Regions from separate parts of the Homo sapiens genome. Here region 1 is linked to region 2. The links are contacts of gene promoters, found by promoter capture Hi-C in human tissues and cell types (Jung and others, 2019). All regions are on one chromosome and are shown on one strand. The core of a region is centred on a gene start or on the middle of the fragment in contact, and the rest is flanking DNA. Distances in the headings are between cores, read along the strand shown. Region 1 overlaps RPN2 (ribophorin II). Region 2 holds the start of TGIF2 (TGFB induced factor homeobox 2).

What was found. The method cuts DNA at HindIII sites, captures the fragments that hold promoters and counts their contacts. A contact is called where the count stands out against the background at its distance.
Region 1: a fragment that was not itself captured here is called in contact with the fragment with the promoter of TGIF2 in region 2 in 1 of the 25 tissues and cell types used here (adrenal gland).

What each region holds. Positions count from the first base shown.
Region 1 is chr20:37,213,881-37,216,580 of GRCh38, forward strand. All of the region lies in intron 9 of RPN2 (ribophorin II), which reads left to right. Among named protein-coding and RNA genes, the nearest start is that of MROH8, 36 kb to the left of the region's middle. The HindIII fragment of the contact is 9,723 bases long and covers 1-2,700 here.
Region 2 is chr20:36,572,185-36,574,884 of GRCh38, forward strand. It overlaps TGIF2 (TGFB induced factor homeobox 2), which reads left to right and starts at 1,413. Exons shown (of 3, transcript NM_021809.7): 1 at 1,413-1,561. It overlaps TGIF2-RAB5IF (TGIF2-RAB5IF readthrough), which reads left to right and starts at 2,331. Exons shown (of 5, transcript NM_001199535.2): 1 at 2,331-2,451. It overlaps DLGAP4-AS1 (DLGAP4 antisense RNA 1), which reads right to left and starts at 1,091. Exons shown (of 5, transcript NR_109939.1): 1 at 728-1,091. RefSeq lists an enhancer at 530-589 and silencers at 1,090-1,409, 1,440-1,529, 1,600-1,769. The HindIII fragment of the contact is 15,161 bases long and covers 1-2,700 here.

The DNA.
Region 1 (2,700 bases), core at 177-2,676, 640 kb after region 2:
TCCTTCCCATTGCCATGTTAGTATATCCAAGGATATGGCCAAATTGACACAGTATTAATTGTCTGGTGCATTGACTTTTCTCTACAACCAAGCTAATGTGTTTATGTGGAGGGAGGGCTGCATTCAGTCTTTGCTGTTTGACAGACTTAGTAGCTAAGGCAGTAAATCAAGAACTTGGTCATAGTGAATTTTCTTTTATTTGTAAGTTTTTCATTTTCCATTATAATTTAGCATTACTGTCTTACATGAAATTTAGTTAGTAGAAAAAATAAAAATCACCCATAATTCCACTGAGCCTTAAACTCTTAAAGTGTTTTGTGTGATAGGCTTTGGTGGGTTTAGAAAAGTGCTTGATGCCAAATAGGTGACAAAAAGCACCAAGTGACACATACGTAACACTATAATGAAGCTATTTGGGTAAAGGATAAAAGAAAATCAGTAATCTTTCATAATGAACTTTGTTGATGTTTAGCTAACTCTAGCTGGGTTGAAGATCGAAGTAGCTTTAAGGATAGAAAGCCTTATTTACCTGATGCTTTGTGGGAAAGAGGTAGTTCACCTTAGTATTTTTCCCAGCTAATTGAAATTTACCCCATCTGGCATGGTGGCTTTCATTGTAATCTTTTTAGATAGAAGTTTATTTAAGATGAGTGACACATTTTCCTACTTTCTTACTTCCAATTTAAGATGGTTTCTTTGTCTTTCATGACCTTGACACTTGAAGAGGATGGGCTCTCAATCTGTAGAATGTCTCTCCGTTTGTGTTTGTCTGATGTTTCTTCATGATCAGGTTCAGGTCATGCATTTTCCGCAGTTCTATCCCAAAAGTAATGCTCTGCCCTACTCAGAACAAGAAGTATATGATGTCGATATGTCTTATTACAGGTCATGTTAACCTTGATCACTTGAGTAAGGTGATTGTGTGCTAGGTTTCTCTGCTGTAAAGTTGCTGTTTTTCTGCTTGTATTTAAGTGTCTTGTGGGGTGGTACTTTGAGACTCTGTAAGTATCCTAATGATGTTGTCTGTAATAGTTATTACTGTGGTGTTTGCCAAAGGGTGATTTTCTCTTTCATTCCTTCTACATTTTAAAAATTGGAATTCTGCTGTAAGAAAATAACTGTGTTTTATACCATTTTATTTATAACTATCATAATTCTTTATCATAACATGTTTATAATGTAATATATTTTCTATAATTCATATGTTTACAATAATTGCATCATGGACATTTATTTTACTATATACATTGTGGTCCATGACTCATTTATCTTGTTGCTCATTTTATCCTAGGTTTGGCCTTTGGAGAGCTCCTCAAATTGGCTCCTGTGACACTTGCTTTCTTTTAATGACAGAATTAATAGCTAGAAAGTTTGACCTTTTCAAAAATGCGGCATTACTTCCCATAGGTAGATTCAACACTTGCATTTAAAGTTTGGCAGAAAGGAAGATGTTTTCTGGAACTCGAATCTCTTCACCTCATGTGTTGACCTTTTTAGCATGAGACATCTGATCTTAGTTCGTTCACTATGGATAGAAGCTATTGTAGCGTATGCCTTGATCCTTTCAAATCCACATTCTTATAATGTTAGTTTCCTATGTTAAGAGGACTTATTTGCAACTGAACATATTAAAAGGAAAGTTCTTTTTTTCTTTTCTTTTTTTTTCTTGAAACCTCTTCTTCCCTGTACTTCGAGTCCATCTTAAATGCCAGGCTTATACCTCACAGTTCTTAACCCCTTCCTTTCTTTTCACTTCTACCTTCTAGTCAGTTACCAAGTCCTATTGATTCCACCTCTGATTGTCTTTTCCATGAGTCTTTTGCTGTTACAGTCACCAAATTGCTCTATTCTCCATATTCGTACCAATATTTGGTATTTTTAGGTTTTAGTAATCTGATGCATATGAAAAGGTATCTTGTTTTAATGTCTTTCCTTGGTTACTGGTAAAGTTAAACATCTTTTTATATATTTATTAGCCAATTACATTTCCTTTCCAGTGAATTGTTTTATATCTTTGCCTGGTTTTCTTTTGGTTTGTTAGTCTTATTACTGATTTTTAGGAGTGATATATGTTTAGTTGTGAGCATCAGATATCTTCCCCTAGAATTGCTTTATGGCATCTCTTGAAGCACAAAATTTAATTTTAATGAAGCCTAATTTAAATGTCTTTTCCTAGGGCCAGGTGAGGTGGCTCACACCTGTAATCCCAGCACTTTGGGAGGCCAAGGCAGGCGGATCACCTGAGGTCAGGAGTTCAATACTAGCCTGGCCAACATGATGAAACCCCATCTCTACTAAAAACACAAAAAGTAGCCAGGCGTGGTGGCACGTGCCTGTAATCCCAGCTACTCGGGAGGCTGAAGCAGGAGAATCGCTTGAACCTGGGAGGTGGAGGTTGCAGTGAGCTGAGATCGTGCCACCGCACTCCAGCCTGGGCAATGGAGCCAGACTCTGTCTCAAAAAAATAAATAAATAAATAAAATACAAGTTTTTTTGCTAGACTGTGTTTTTTATATCTTCTTTAAAACAATCCTGTGCTACCCCAAAGTCAAAAAGATATTCTCCAATGTTTTCTTTTTTTATTTTTATTTTTGTTTTTGAGACAGAGTCTCGCTCTGTCACTCAGGCTGGAGTATAGTGGTGCCATCTTGGCTCACTGCAGCCTCTGCCTCCGGGGTTCAAGCGATTCTCCTGCCTCAG
Region 2 (2,700 bases), core at 163-2,662:
GACGTGGCTTTTTCTTTCACAGGGCCGTGGGGGGAGCACCACTTCCCCGGCCAAAAAAATTGTTTCTGACCCACACTCTGGGCCTTATTTTCCCTGTCTGTGAAATGGAGAGCAACAGGCAGTGCCACTGACATTTCACCCGCTGCCGTGAGGAGGTTTTTAACATTTGCAGGAAGTCTGGCTTCTATGGGGTGTCCAGGTGAAACCTTAACAATCTTTAATCAGCATTCTGATTGGCTTAAGGCTTGTTTGGAAAAAATTAAGAGTTTTGTTCCTAGAGTTCTCCATTGCTAAAGGGTAATTAAGTCCAAAAGCTGTTTTCAAAGCGATTTCCAAGCTCAAGGGCCCTAGATATCTGGACCTAGCCGTGTCCGGGTACAGGGCTGGGGGGCGTGGGGGGATGCCCTAAGAGGCTGGTTAACAGAAATATCACAGTATGTGGTACCCACAGCAGAGAGCAGGGAAGAATGTACTGACTGGGGTGGGGGAGGCCAAGGAAAACCTTCTGGAGTAGGGTGTAACTGGCAGAAGAGGAAAAAGAAACCAGACAGGAACTCCGGGAGCTCCTGGACTGATCGTTTAAGGCCGGGCACAAGGGGTAAGGGATCAGGCTTCACTATCGACCGACCTGGGCTGAATGATACCGGTTGACTGTGTGACAAAAGCAAATCAAGAACCTCTCTGCGGCTCATGAGTAAGCCAGAGACTTACATAGGACAACACATACCCTATCACCCGAGGATGAGACGGGATGACACACACGAAGTGCCCCGCACAGCGTCGTTGTAAAGCGTTGGCTGTTTTCACCTCTGGCCGCCCCCTGTGAGCCCGATCATGTGCTTTTTGGGCTTAGGTCGGAGGCGGCCTCCCAGATTCTACAGGCCATTGAGGTCGTAACAAGCGTCTCCATCAGAGCCTAGTCCTTAACTAGCTGCGGGTAAGTGCCCGGACTAAGTGGCCTCAGTTTCCCCTCGAAGCAACGGGACCAATCGCACCGCCGGCAGGACATCTTGTGCGGGGCGCGAAGTGACAAAAGTCAGGATTTGCAGAAGTTCCCACTCGGTAACGACCCCCACCCCGGCAAGGAGCACAGTAGGCGCTCCGGAAACGCCCTCCACGAGGAGGGCCGGGCCACTTCCTGCCCCCGAGCGGGCTCTCCCCGGCGGAGGCTCCCACCGCCGCTATGGGTAGGCCATGCAGCATTCCTGAGGGCGGGGTGGGCGCAGGAAGAAGGTGCCCGCGGCCCCGCCCCCTCCGGGCGCGCTGGGCGGGGCGAAGCCCCTCGGCGCCGACGGCCCGCCCCGCGGGGGGTGGGCGCAGCTCGTCGCGCTCCGCACAAAGTTTGTTTTCTCCCTCCGGGCGGGTGGGGGAGGGCGCAGAGGGCGCGGGGGGAGGAGAGGGGATCTGACGTCAGGCCGCGAGGTGCTTTCCAGCCGCGAGCTGTCAGGCCGAGTGTCAGGCCGGGCAGGTACGCGGCGCGCGCCCCCGGCGCCCCCCGCTCCCCGCCGGGACGCCCCGCGCCGAGCCGGAGGCCGCGTGGACCCGAAAGCCGCTGGGAAAAGTCAGTGCAGGGAGCAGCAGAGGGCCAGATGGGGGTGGGGGCGCGCGGACAACTTGGAAAGTTTCTTTTTCTCGGCCGGACGGGGAGGGGGCGTCGTCCTGGCGCGTGCGGTAGGGGGTGTGTGAGCTCGGGGGTGTTTGTGAGTCCCGACGGCCCCCGGGGGGTGTTTGTGAGTCCCGACGGCGCTGCGCTCCGGGGGCCGGTGGGGGACTGTTCCAGCCCCCGGGAGGAAGCCCGCTTGGGGCCCTGGTGGGGGGCCCAGCTTCATAGGATCCCACCCCAGGAGAGGGCCGATCCTGCACCGGACCTGAGTGAGCGCGCGGGGGGACGGATTTGTTTGGTTTCAAAAGTGCACGTTGCTAACCGCCAGCAGGGCCCCCCCGCCGCCGAGCCGGACAGGGGGCGGCCGAGAGTGACAGCTGGGGGTGGGGGCCGCGGGAAGGGCCCGGAGCGGGGGGGCCCTGGGGAGCCCGCGCGAGTTCCCCTTTCCTTTGGAACAAAGGAAAGTCTGTCTCCGAGGCATCTGTCACTCCCAGGCTGGCCAAGGAAGCGGGGCGCGTGGGGCCGGCGCCCCGGAGAAAGTTTGTTCGCGCCGGGACCCTCGGGCAGGCCGAAGGTGATCCAAGCCTCCCGCGGGAGAAGCGCGTAGTCTCCGGGGCAGGGGGCGGCCAACATGGAGTCTGGGCGCAGGGCTGGGGGGGGGGGGGCGGCGCGGAGGTGGGAGCCCAGCCCCCTCCCCTCCCTTCCCCTCCCCTCCCCCTCCGGGCCCAGTTCGGAGCACAAAGCCGAGCGCGCACGCTCCGCCGTCCCCGCGCCCCGAAGAGTCGGCCAGCCCCGAACTGCCGGAGTAGGGGTGGGAACCAAACTTTTTCCTGCCCCGGGACAGACACGTGAGTTTTCTTTCTTCCAGAGCCCCCGTCCCACCGGGATGGCGGGCCCGCGCGGGAGCTGGTGCGCGGAGTCGGCCCGGGGTGTGGGGACTGTGGGGTGCAAGCGCCCCGAGCGCCGGACGATTCCTCGCCGACCCAGGAGCCATGTGCTCCGACTCGGTCTGGGCCGCGGGGGAGGTTGCGCGCTTTGTCTGAACTGCTGGGAATGCGGGCGTGAGTGCGCGGCCCGGGGGAGTGTCGGGACCAGCT